Regions from separate parts of the Homo sapiens genome. Here regions 1 and 2 are each linked to region 3. Evidence: promoter capture Hi-C in human tissues and cell types (Jung and others, 2019). All regions are on one chromosome and are shown on one strand. The core of a region is centred on a gene start or on the middle of the fragment in contact, and the rest is flanking DNA. Distances in the headings are between cores, read along the strand shown.

Region 1 (4,489 bases), core at 1,146-3,645, 220 kb after region 3:
AGCCTGGGGTACATGTTGGGGTGAGTGGGACACGCCAGTGCCTGACACGTGCCTGCCGCCAGGTTTTAGGTACCTAATAAATCTTTGCTGAAAGGAAGGAAGGAGCAGGGCGGGAGAGGTCAGGCTCAGGTGGAGGCAGGAATGATACTCCAAATATTAATAACCATCCGGCATAGGGACTGACCAGTCAGAAAGGACACTGGATATAGACAGCCAGCACCGCTGTACCGGTGCATACCAGTGAAGGGATGGTGCAGAGGCCAGTATACCAGTGAAGGGATGGTGCAGAGGCCAGTTTGAGCAGAGCATGAACTTCCAGTTCCACCAGGGAACCAGCCCAGCCCGTCTGGACCATGGTGTGAAGCAGCAGAGGATCAGGCCCTAAGTCAGATACACTGTGCTCTGAGCCAGACAGTGTCACTGGGGGCTGCCTGGAAGAGGTGATGGGTTACCAGAAGAAGGCTCCTCTCTGTTTTGTAAAGTCAGGTCCATCTGGGGGACTAAGCAAGCAGGGATCACTGAACCCCTGTTCTGAAAAGAGGAGAGGGGTTTTGCCTTGCCTGGCCCAAGCCACATTGAGGGAGTGAAAGAGCTGTGGGCGGTAGGCCAGGCTGCGTGTCTGGGGTCTTGTCTGGGGCTGGGTACCCTGGGGCTTTGGGGTCCTTCTGAGGGATCCAGACTCTTCTGGGACCCAGCCACACCTAGGTGGAAAGAGGGGCTACGGATGCGCTCAGCATGGCTTCCAGCCACCTTTGTATACCTGGAGCTGGGCCGCTTCCACCACGGTTGCAAGGATGGAGGAAAAGCAGAAAGGACTGGGGAGACTGGTGGGGTGGAGGTTTCTTCCTTGGAGAGCTTGCAGAGATGCCACCTGCCAAAGCCTGGGGACCAAAGGAGGGGGTTCTTGTTTTAATTGTTCTTATAAAGGTAATACACACCAGAGAGAACATTCTAATAGTTCTAAAAGGTGTGTACAGTGAAAAGTCTCCAATTTACAGCATTTTGTTATAGAAAAAAAAAAAAAGTAACTCTCCATCCTTCCCACCCTTAAGTTTCCCCTCAGAGGCAGCCTTCATTATGAGTTCTTTTTTTTTTTGAGACGGGGTCTTGTACTGTCACCCGGGCTGGAGTGCAACGGTGCAATCTTGGCTGACTGCAACCTCCGCCTCCTGGGTTCATACGATTCTTCTGCCTCAGCCTCCCAAGTAGCTGGGATTACAGGCGCACACCATCACACCCGGCTAATATTTTGTATTTTTAGTAGAGATGGGGTTCACTATGTTGGCCGGAGTGGTCTTGAACTTCTGACCTCGTGATCCACCCACTTCGGAGTCCCAAAGTGCTGGGGTTACAGGTGTGAGCCACCGTGCCAGGCCCATTATGGGTTCTTACTATATTCTCCTTGGGTCGGGCCTGGTGGCTCACACCTGTAATCCTAGCACTTTGGGAGGCCAAGGCGGGTGGATCACGAGGTCAGGAGATTGAGACCATCCTGGCTAACACAGTGAAACCCCGTCTCTACTACAAATACAAAAAATTAGCCACGTGTGCTGGCGGGCGCCTGTAGTCCCAGCTACTAGGGAGGCTGAGGCAGTAGAATGACATGAACCCGGGAGGCAGAGGTTGCAGTGAGCTGAGATCGCACCACTGCACTCCAGCCTGGGTGACAGACAAGACTCTGTCTCAAAAAAAAAAAAAAGAAAAAATGTTCTCCTAGAGATGCTGTCTAGGAGATGTTATAACACATGTACAGGCATATGTTATATAGAACTATACACATTTACTCACATTCACGGCCTCTCTAATAGTTGTAGTTGCATATCTATTTTATTTATTTATTTTGAGACAAGAGTCACACTCTGTCGCCCAGGCTGGAGTGCAGTGGCACAATCTCAGCTCAGTGCAAACTCTGCCTCCCAGGTTCAAGTGATTCTCATGCCTCAGCCTCCCAAGTAGCTGGGATTACAGGCACCCACCACCACGCCGGGCTAATTTTTGTATTTTAGTAGAGACAGGGTTTCGCCATGTTGGCCAGGCTGGTCTCAAACTCCTGGCCTCAAATGATGCACTGGCCTTGGCCTCCTGAAGTGCTGGTATTACAGGTGTGAGCTACTGTGCTTGGCCTGCATACCTTATTTTAAAGCTTCCTTTATTTTTTTCACGGTGTCAGGGTATTCTATTGTGTAGATGTAGGATAATGTATTTAACCAGCTTCCCACTGATGGACATTCAGATTGTTTCCCATTCCTTGATACTACAAAAAAAGGCTACAATGCATAGTCTTACAAATGGGTGTTATCTGTAGAGCAGATTCCTAGAAATGGAGATTTTGGGTCAAATGGTAGCCATGTAAAATTTTAATCTAGGCCGGGTGCGGTGGCTCACGCCTGTAATCCCAGCACTTTGGGAGGCCGAGGCGGGCGGATCACGAGGTCAGGAGATCGAGACCATCCTGGCTAACAAGGTGAAACCCCATCTCTACTAAAATAGAAAAAATTAGCCGGGCGTGGTGGCGGGCACCTGTAGTCCCAGCTACTTGGGAGGCTGAGGCAGGAGAATGGCGTGAACCCGGGAGGCGGAGCTTGCAGTGAGCCGAGATCATGCCACTGCACTCCAGCCCAGGTGACAGAGCGAGACTCCGTCTCAAAAAAAAAAATTTTTTTTTTAATCTATATTGCCAAAGTGCCCTCTGAAGATTATAACCATACCAATTTATTTTACTTTTTTGAGATGGAGTCTTGCTGTGTTGCCCAGGCTGGAGTGCAGTGGTGCAATCTCGGCCCACTGCAAGCTCCGCCTCCCGGGTTCACGCCATTCTCCTGCCTCAGCCTCCCAAGTAGCTGGGACTACAGGCGCCCACCACCACTCCTGGCTAATTTTTTGAACCATACCAATTTATACTCCCAAGGGTAACATACAAGAGAGCCCATTTCCCCTCGCCCTTTCCCACATTCTGGCTTAGTAAGACTTTTCTCTTTGCCTGTGTGATTGGTGAGAAGGTGTCTTAAGGTAGTTCACTTTTACATTTTTCTCAAGGTGGTGAGGATGAACTCTTCTCATGTTTAAAAGCCATGTGGTCTAAAGCCAGAAGAGAGAACTGTTAGACTCATGGGGAAATGGGTTTGGTGTGAGTAGCTCCAACAGGGAATAGTTGGGTCTTAGAGGAAAAAACTACAGTTTGTCTTGGAGGGAGCCTCCTCTTGCTAAGACCCCCACCACCAGGGCTAAGGATTGCTTAAATCAGTGGTGTTCAAACCTGGTTCTGAGCTGCCTTCTCAGGGGCTGAGGATAGGGACAGGACCAGACCCTGGGGCTCTCACCCCCAGCCTGGGCCTGAGCAGCTTCTTGCTTATCTGCTTGATGTCCTAGGCTTCTAGAGAAGGTTTCATTTTGAACAAAGAGTTATAGGGCTGAAGAAAAAGTTGAAAAGCACCGCCTCAAATCGTGTTCCCTCTCCCCAGGGATAGATTGCTTTCTGCTTCCGGAGCCCATCAGCGTTTGCCAGTCCCAGAGCAGGCCTGACACTGCAGTGTAGGGAGGGGCATGGGAGTCCCTCAGGAGAAGTGTCGCAGGAGTGATCCTTGGAGCACTTGGGTGAAGGGCGGATGCACAAGATACACAGACACCTCTGGGGGACACAGCTTTGGGCTCTGAGTGTTAAGTGGCTCCCAGAGAAATAGAGGTTCGACTCCGTGCTGTTTCCCTTCTGTACCCTGTGCTTTCTGCCTCCATGCTTCTGTCCAGGCTGCTTTCACCCGGAGCGCTCTTGTGCATGTCCACGCCCTCCTTGTCCTCAAAGGCTGGCTCCCATGTTACCCTTCCATTAAGTCCTCCTGATCCCCTTGAAATCCCATAGTTCTTCACTTTGTTCCTCTTTGCATGTGAGTCCCTCCCAGAACACAGTGGCACTCAACCCCCTGGGAACAAATGAATGAATAAACGAACTTAAACAAGGGCATGAGACAATCAGAAACTCCTCCATGAGGCATCCGTTTCCCACTTGTAATGGTGTTTCCACGCCAAGCCTCACCTCCCCTAGCTGACTCTCATTTCCTGACTGACTGGACAGCAGTGCCTGGGCTTGACTCATCTCTGTACCCCGCCTAGCGCTTCACCAGGGTGAGGTAGAAAGGCCACAGTCAGTCCTTCTGCAGCAGAGGCAGGGGTCTTGTGTTCTGATGGAAGGCTTAGGAAAACTTCCCGGAGGAAGTTGCATTTCAGACAGACTGGGAGGAACGTGAAGGAAGTGAATGATTTTGGCAGGTGGGGGCGGGGCGGGAGGCGGTCTGTTGTTGGGGACATTGGCAGTCAGGGATGCAGGAGGCCTACTTTGGAGGGAGTGCTCAGGGGTCCGCTGAGTGGAAGTACAGAGTCTGGGAGAGAGCCTGGGAGGGGGGCTTGGACAGATGGACTGGAGCCGGGACATGGAGGAGGCCCAGGGATGCCAGGGGAAAAAGTAGGCTCAAGTCCAGCGGGCCTGGGGTTCCAG
Region 2 (4,554 bases), core at 1,925-4,424, 140 kb before region 3:
CTTTCAATTCCCCTGGGTTGGGTGGGATCTGGGTGGGATCTGGGGGGTTGGGAGACATACTGGGGTGGGGGACTGACCAGCCAGCTTGCTCTGACCACACCAGAAAATCCGGTTGAAGTCATCTAGATCCTTCCAGCAAGTCAGAACATTTAGAGAGTCTTTGATAGCGAGGTCGGCCAGCCTTCAGGGCAGGATGGGGCAAAGGGTTTGAGCATCATTCTGAGGCTCTAACATGACGACCACAGGCACCGATCCTGGGCCAGTCCAATGCAGTGCAGCCCATAAGCCCCTTGGCTTCCACTAGACCAGGACACCTCCCTCTCACCCAGCCTCCCCTTGCTCTCACCCCTTGGCCAGCGAAACCTCAAAGTCAACTCTCTTGTCTTCCAGAAATCGCTCATCCACAGGGAGGTCATATAGTTTGGCCCCAGCCATATTCAGAATTAACCCGTCCTTCCAGTTTCCCCACCTGTGGGGCAGGAAGGAAATCAAGTATGGGTGCTGGAAGCATCAGCAGCTCACGTGGGGTCAGGGGAGGAGGGCTCACCGGTACAACTTCCTTCTCTCTTCCAGCTCTTCTTCCCGGTGTTTCTGGAACAGGCCCTGAGGGTCCTCGCCCACAGTGCGGCCTAGAAGGACAGAGGAGGACTTGGCCAGTGACTTTTGGTGAGCGCCTCTTCTTGTCTCTGCCAGGAGAGCCTCAGCACCCCGTCCTTCTGTGTGGCCTCTGCCCCTTCAGCATCACGCCCCTCCCCCAGGCTCCAGCCACTTTGTGCCAGCTGCAGCCACCGCCCCTTCGACACCCCCAAAGACCCCGGCGCTCCAGGTTCCAGCACCCCCATCCTGCGCCCTCTTCTCCACACGCGCATCCCCCCAGCTTCTCACACAGCCCAGAGGCCTCCTGACACCCTCAGCCCCGCGCTTACCGGTGCCTTCAGGCAGGCTCAGGACGCCGTTGCCCTCCACCCAGCGGTAACAAGGGAACCTGACCTCGTCCCCGGCTCCGGGGCCCTGCACAGAGATCCAGTTGCAGAACCAGGCGTCGTCCTTAAGGAGGTGCCGTTTGCGCAGTTTCACAAACAGCAGCGGCCCCAGATACTCCGGTACTTCCACCTTGAGTTCTGTCTCCTGCGGGCGACAGAAGAGGCTCAGCCCCGGTGGGGCCTGGCGGGAGGGGCACCCGGCTGAGCCCTGCTCCCTCCAGCGCCCACGCCCTTCCTCGGAGCCTCTGAGAGGAGGAGACGTATCGGGGTGCGGGGACTGAGCCAGAGAGAGAGGGACCGCGCCGAGCAGGTGGCCCCAGGACTCGGTTCTGAGGGGACGGGGACGGCAGGTGGGAAGGTGCGCTCCTGCCTTCACTTTCTCCTCCCTGTGGTCACTGACTGTGCCAAGCGCTGGGCTGAGCGCTGCCGCGCCCTGGACGAGCGCGCTGTGGAGCCCGGACGCGCTGGTGGCAATTCCCGCTGTGCGACCCCCCACCCCACCCCGCCCGAGGCTGAGGACCTGCAGGGGCCCCACCGGCCTGGGGACAACCTTCCCGGAGACCTGGAGGCGGAGAGGGCTCAGCCAGGGAGAGTGACAGAAAGGGAAGGCAGGGGAAAGGCGCGCAGAAAGAGAGCGGCGGGGAAGGGAGGGCGAGCAGCATCTTGGAGCTGGAGCTCAGAGCCCAGGTGTGGGGGGTCAGCAGGTCCGGAGGCTCTCGAAGGTGGCGCCAGGGGCTTTGGATTTGGTCCCGAGAACAAGCGGGAGCCGTTCGAATGTGTTAAGCAGGGGGAGTGAATTAGGGAGAAATCATTCCGGCTTCAGAAGGGCTTGGAAGGTCTGCAGCAGAGGTGGCGAGGCCGCTGGAGGTTTGAAATGGCTTTTAAAATAGAGAAACCGGGAGGACCGACGACCGCTCCGGCGACCGCAGTTTCCAGGCACCAGAGCTGTGTGGAATGAGGGGCGCTCAGGAGCATCCCCTTAATTCCAAGGAGATCGAGTAGCGGGAACATTTATTGAGCCTTTACTGTGTGTCACCAACTGCCCACCATAGGGAGGAAAAAAGGGAGGAGGGAGCGCGCCTTTCCACCTTCCGTGCCCCGTCCCCTCACCATGGAGTCGCGGGGCCACCTGCTCCGTGCGCATTTTCTCTCTTCCTGGCTCCCTTTGCCCCGCTTTCTCGGAAGCTCGGAGCAAGGGCGTGGAGTGCGGGGAGCAGGGCTCCGCAGGTTCAAGAGGACGCGGGCGGTCGGGGGCGGGACGGATATTGGGCAGGGACGCGGGAGATGCTCAGGGTCTAGAACTGACTGCGCCGGATTCTTGTTTAGAGGGAGGTGAAGAGAGGAAGGAGGCGCGGGTGACACCGGGGGAGGCAGGAGGAGAGGGCTGGGAGGTGGGGAGAGGGGAGGACCTCATCCGGGCATGTTGCTTTGACGTTCCCTGAGACAGACATCCGGATTTGGGGATCTGGGAGAGAGCTAGAGCAGTGATGGGAATTTGGGCTTTCGCGGAAGAAAAAAAGTTAACAGGACCGGGTAGAACACCCGGTAGATGTGACATGAGATATGACGGGAGGTGGGTCGGGAAATCGAGAGCGTTCTCCTGTCTTGACTCCCCATCCCTTCCCTCTCACCACCCACTCCACCCCAGGTGATAAAGCCTGAAAGGTAGAGATCCAACAGCGCTAGCGGTTGAAACGGTTTTTAAAATAGAGAAAGCGAGAGGACCGACGGCGGCTCCAGTGACTGCTGAGTTTCCAGACAAGGGAGCTTTGTGCAATGAGGGGCGCACAGGAGCATGCCCTCAATTCCAAGGAGATCGGGTAGCGGCAACATTTATTGAGCGCTTACTGTGTGCCACCGACTGCCCTAAAGCCCCCCACCCCCGTGGCCTCCGCGCGCTTTGAGCCCAATGCGCGGGCCCTTGGCAAAGAGAATCGGCCAGAGGCCAACGGGGGCGCATGTCCTCCCCGGTATTTGACTGACTCGGAGCCAGGGGCGCAGCCCACCCCGCCCGGCTCTGGGGAGCTCACCTTGCCCCGTGCGGGCCACAGTCGCTTCCCGAGCGCCGCCTCCCCGTGCTGGCCGACCAGCCACAGCTGCACCTGGTTGTTGGAACCGGCATAGAGCGAGGCCCCAGTGGACACGCGGATGCGGTAGAGACCCATCTTGCTCAAAGATGTTTCGCTCCTTCTGGTGGAGAAGGGTGGACGAGCTAAATAACCCAGCCTGAGACCCCGCCCTCTCGGAGGTCGCTTGGGGTCGGAATGTGGGTGGCAGGTCTCCAATCAACTCCGCCTACCGCTGGGGCCCCCAGCTCCAAGGAGCAGAGCTTCAAGGGGCAGAATTCAGCCCCAGTCCAAAAGGCGGTGTCCTGGCGAGAGCAGGGAGTGGAAACCACTATCTTGACGGGAGGGAGAAAAAGAAAAGGATTTGGACCGAAAACACGCAGGAAGAGGGAATCAACGCCTGGTACAGCAGGCAGGCGAGGTGGGGGTAGGAGTTATGCACGTGTGTACCACGGACTTTGGGCCAAGCCTGGGTGGCTGGGAAGCCAACCTCCATCTAAACGCACGCGTGCACACACACACACACGCAAGGACACGCGCGCGCACACACAAGCCTCACAAGTTGGATTGCAGGAGAGGGTGAAGTGGGCGAGGAGACCCAGTTTGCAGTGGCATTTGAGGAAGGTACATTCAGGCCACGGAATTCATTCGACCAGCTTTGCACACTTGCCTTCTCTGTGCCAGCCACTGGGACTCATTCCTTTTGAGCATAAAAGCCGCTGCCTCCCTGTTGCCTGCAGAATAAAAGTCCAAATGTTTCTGGCATTCAATGCCCTTGCTAACCTGACCTGCTCTCCTCACCTCTCATCCCACTGCACCCTGGCATCTCCTGTGCTGGAGCCATGTGTTCCCCGGAACCCCCCCTCCCCCCGCCGCCCCTGCTGTTCTCTCAAAGAACTCACTTCTGGGTTAGTCTGGTCATGCTTCTAAACCCTAATTCGTCTCCAGTTTCTTTTTGGGCTGGAGCCATGTGTTCCCCAGAACCCCACCTGCTGTTCTCTCAAAAGAACTTGCTCCTGGATTAGTCTATTCATCTATTCATGCTTCTAAACCCTAGTTCACCTCCGGTTTCTCAGGAAAGTCTTACCCGGTACTTTCACCCCCCACCACCCCACCAGAGTGAATTAGCTTTCCTTTTTTTTTTTTTTTTGAGATATAGAGTCTCACTCTGTCACCCTGGAATGCAGGGTGGAGTGCAATGGCACGATCTCGGCTCACGGCAACCTCTGCCTCCCGGGCTCAAGCAATTCTCTGCCTCAGCCTTCCGAGTAGCTGGGATTACAGGCGCCTGCCACCATGCCTGGATAATTTTTGTATTTTTAGTAGAGACGGGGTTTCTCCATGTTGGCCACGCTGGTCTTGAACTCCTGACCTTGTGATCCACCCACCTCAGTCTCCCAAAGTGCTGGAATTACAGGTGTGAGCCACGGCGCCCGGCCCAGCTTTCCTTTCTAACACTTTTCTCCTTGCGCACACTTCTACTGTTGCACAGTTAATACTGCAGT
Region 3 (4,027 bases), core at 461-2,960:
AGAAGAATCGTTTGAACCCAGGAGGTGGAAGTTGCAGTGAGCCAAGATCATACCACTGCACTCCAGCCTGAGTGACAGAGTGAGACTCCAAAAAAAAAAAAAAAAAAAAAAGCCAGACTTCCATCACTTGTCTGAAAATTATCTGTTTAAGTGCGTTTTTCTCGAGTCCATAACTTTTCAGCAATCTACCATAGACCCCTGAGACCAAATCCAAATGTATGCCTCACCTAATGCTAAGTTAGGAGGGGAAAAGGAGACTCAGTTCCCCATCCCTTAAACAGGCGAGACCAGCCGGGCATGGTGTCTCACGCCTGTAATCCCAGCACTTTGGGAGGCCAAGGTGGGCGGATCATGAGGTCAGGAGATCGAGACCATCCTGGCTAACACGGTGAAACCCCGTCTCTACTAAAAATACAAAAAAAAAAAAAAAAAATTAGCCGGGCGTAGTGGCGGGCGCCTGTAGTCCCAGCTACTCGGGAGGCTGAGGCAGGAGAACGGCGTGAACCCGGGAGGCAGAGCTTGCAGTGAGCCGAGTGAGCCACTGCACTCCAGCCTGGGGGACAGAGCGATACTCCGTCTCAAATAAATAAATTAATAAATAAATAAATGAAATAAACAGGCGAGACCAAAGTCAACTCAGAGAAGCTTTAATAGCAAGAGGTGGGACTAGCCTCCTGGCCCGGGAGAGAGCGGCGGCGGCGGCGCCGTTCAACTGCGGCAGCAGAATAAGCGCGCGTCGTTCAGCGCAGTGTCATCGCCGAGGCCTCTAGGTCCCTGGATCTTGGTCTGCAGGCCGCACGCGCCCTTGGGGCAATGGTCACTCCAGTCTCCAAAGTCTCCCCAGCTCAGCCCAGGCCCCTGCAGTTCCTCGCCGTCTGAACAGCGGAAGCGCACGTTGTTCGCTGCTGTGTTGTCACCGAGGGTCGTGGGTGCCTCCACGCGAAGCGAGAAAGCCACTAGGTAGGCGCCGCCGCGACACCACAGCGGCTCACTCCATTCGCCCCAGCTGCAAGGCAAAGGGAGATGCGTTGCCTCTGCGGGCCCCCCATTCACCAAGCCCTTGAGACTTTCCAAGCCAAGTGCTGTGTATATGACCTGGTGGGCTGGGTGCTCCCCGACCTCCGCCGAGGAGCGGAGGAGGGGTCTTCCATCCACCCTTCGCCTCCCCGGTCTATACTGCCCCGTAGCTCTGGCGGAGCCAGCCTGCCTGTTGCGACGGAGTATGTAATAGAGGGTAAGGGACATACCATCACCCCAAGGGATCCTCGACCCCTGCGCCCCACCTTCCAGACTGGGACTCTACCACGTGCGTATTGCCTAGGACGTTCCCGCGCGCGCAGTGCAGCCTGATCCCATTCAGTGCAGTGTCGTCGCCAGGAATGCCTTGGGGAGGCTCCACCTGGGTATCGAGGAGAGGGGCAAGGGCGAGTCACGGAATTATCATCCTTGGCTCTATGGTCCCACGCATCTCCGCCCTCTCCAGGACCTACGCCTGAGCCCCAACCTTGAGCGAGAACCCGCTGGCGAAGAATCCATCGGGACACATCTCAGGCCAGGCCCAGTCGCCCCAGGGACCCCCGCTGGTCACTTCGATGACCGCCGTGTAGCCGTTCCGGCCATCTGTCTGTGCACATGTGAAACCAGTCGCCCGCAGAAGCAGCAGCAGCGGCAGCAGCTTGGCTCCTGCGCCCCGCTCCATCCTGTAGCGTCTGTGAATCAGGCCTCCTAAGCAGATTTATATCAGTTTGGCCTCTGTGAGGGCTCCGATTGCGGAAGGGCCTCCCAGATTAAGTGAAACCCAAAACTAATCCACTCCCGGAACCCTATTTCCTGCTCCCGGAGGCAGAGGCTCCCAGAGCTAGGGTAGGAGGGGCAGTGAGAGAGGGCGAATTAAAATAACCATCACCTACTGAATATTTACTATAGGCTACGAATTATGGTTAGCGCTTTGCAGTATTTTGTTTAACCCTCACAACAATTTTTGGGGGGTGAGAATTATCCTTCCTATTTTGTAGATGAGGGAACTGGCTCAAAAATGGCAAGCAACTTGCCTTAGGTTTACAGCCAAGCAAGCTGGGAAACATTCCAGCAGTGAGAGTGGAGACAGAGCAGAGACCAGGGCTAGGGATGGAAGTGACCTCCCGGGAGTCCCACCAGTGACGGGATGGGGCAAGAGCAACCCAGAGACCTCCAGGATGTGAGGGGACATCAGAGTGAGGATAGGACAAGAATCCTCGAACTGGAGAAGCTGAGAAAACTCCTGTCAGCTCAGAAGTCTCTTCCTCCTCTGAGAGGTCTTCTGAGAGCTCAGGGCCCTAACACCTTGAGAATCCGGGACACTCCTCCCTACCTTAGAAGAAGACATATACAAACAGAAATAATTCTTTTTTATTTTTATTTTTTGAGTCGAAGTCTCACTCTGTCGCCCAGTGGCGGCATCGCAGTGGCGCGATCTCGGCTCACTGCTACCTCCACCTCCTGGGTTCAAGCGATTCTCCTGCCTCAGCCTCCCGAGTAGCTGGGACTACAGGCGCGCGCCAAGACGCCGCCCCGCTAATTTTTGTATTTTTAGTAGAGACCGGGTTTCACCGTGTTGGCCAGGATGGTCTCTATCTCTTGACCTTGTGATCCGCCTGCCTCGGCCTCCCAAAGTGCTGGGATTACAGGCATGAGCCACCGCGCCCGGTCCAACAGGAATAACTCTAAGAAGTTTGGGGACAGGAGACTAAGAACCCCTAAGAAAAGATCATGCTGTTTCTTCCATTGCTTTCTGTATCCTTATATCCTTTCCTGGAATGCCTTTCCCCCTGTGACCACCAGATGGACTCCTAATTTGCAAAACAAAAAGCGAGAAAATCTGGCTAAGTATGTTTTTTGTTTGTTTGTTTGTTTGTTTGTTTTGAGACGAAGTCTCACTCTGTTGCCCAGGTTGGAGTGCAGTGACGCCATCTCGGCTCACTGCAACCTCTGCCTCCCGGGTTCAAGCGATTCTCTTCCCTTAACCTCCCGAGTAGCTGGGATTATAGGCGTTCGCCACCACGCCCGGCTAATTTGTATATTTTTAGTAGAGACGGGGTGTTGCCATGTTAGCCAGGCTGACCTCAGGTGATCCGCCCACCTCGGCCTCCCAAAGTGCTGGGATTACAGGCGTGAGCCACCGTGCCTGGCCTAAAAATGCCTGGCTAAATTTGTTAGGGGCCACAACCCCAGATTTACCTGCCCCTCATACACACTCCTTTGTTTATTCAATACCTATTTAGCAATAATATGTTTTGGCTTAAGCAATATTCCACTTGCTGTAAGCAAGAATAACAAGGCCCCTGTCATCAGAGGTCACATTCCAGTGGGGGAGACAGAGGATAAATTCTCCCCCAGTGGACCTTGAGCTCTGTGAAGGCACTTTTGTATTCTTGAAGCCTAGTACGTGCGGAAGTACTTAATAAAAGTTGGTGCAATGAATGATTGAAGAGCCAATCTGGAGTTTTGAAAATTAAACCACAAAAATGCAAAAGGATAAAGCCTGACGTACGTATATGATTGCAAGAGGTCATGTATCCAGGTCAAGACAAAGTCCCCTGGGAATAAGATAGAGAATTTAGAAGTGGGTGTTCCCGGCTGGGCGCGGTGGTTTACGCCTGTAATCCCAGCACTTTGGGAGGCCAAGTTGGGCGGATCACAAGGTCAGGAGTTCGAGACCAGCCTGTCCAGTATGGTGAAACCCTGTCTCTACTAAAAATGTAAAAATTAGCCGGCACTTTCCAGCCTGGGCGACAGAGCGAGACTTTGTCTCAAAAAACAAAAAAACAAAAAACAAACAAAAAAAAAAAGAGAGCGAGAGAGAAGTGGGTGTTCCCTGGATCCCAGAGCCGGACAATGCTTGAACTTAATAAGATTTATAGGGCAATTGTGGTCAGCTTTTCCATTTAGTGTTTTCACATACGTTATCATTTAATCCTCACATGAGGCTTGCAAAGTACCTATTATTATCCTCAATTTACAGTGGAGGGAACTCAAGCCCAGAGTGAAT

The links. Contacts are between HindIII fragments. The study calls those that stand out against the background at their distance.
Region 1: a contact is called between a fragment that was not itself captured here and the fragment with the promoter of VMO1 in region 3, in 1 of the 25 tissues and cell types used here (stomach).
Region 2: the fragment with the promoter of ALOX15 here is called in contact with the fragment with the promoter of VMO1 in region 3 in 1 of the 25 tissues and cell types used here (adrenal gland).

The regions. Positions count from the first base shown.
Region 1 is chr17:5,008,102-5,012,590 of GRCh38, forward strand. All of the region lies in intron 16 of KIF1C (kinesin family member 1C), which reads left to right. Among named protein-coding and RNA genes, the nearest start is that of KIF1C-AS1, 9.7 kb to the right of the region's middle. RefSeq lists a silencer at 4,136-4,195. The HindIII fragment of the contact is 9,299 bases long and covers 1-4,489 here.
Region 2 is chr17:4,638,504-4,643,057 of GRCh38, forward strand. ALOX15 (arachidonate 15-lipoxygenase) reads right to left here and starts at 3,175. Exons shown (of 14, transcript NM_001140.5): 1 at 3,014-3,175; 2 at 927-1,128; 3 at 548-629; 4 at 347-469; 5 at 78-181. The coding sequence starts at 3,148. RefSeq lists an enhancer at 1-618. The HindIII fragment of the contact is 22,491 bases long and covers 1-4,554 here.
Region 3 is chr17:4,784,654-4,788,680 of GRCh38, forward strand. It overlaps VMO1 (vitelline membrane outer layer 1 homolog), which reads right to left and starts at 1,711. Exons shown (of 3, transcript NM_182566.3): 1 at 1,505-1,711; 2 at 1,284-1,399; 3 at 632-1,006. The coding sequence starts at 1,699. The coding sequence ends at 709. The HindIII fragment of the contact is 14,296 bases long and covers 1-4,027 here.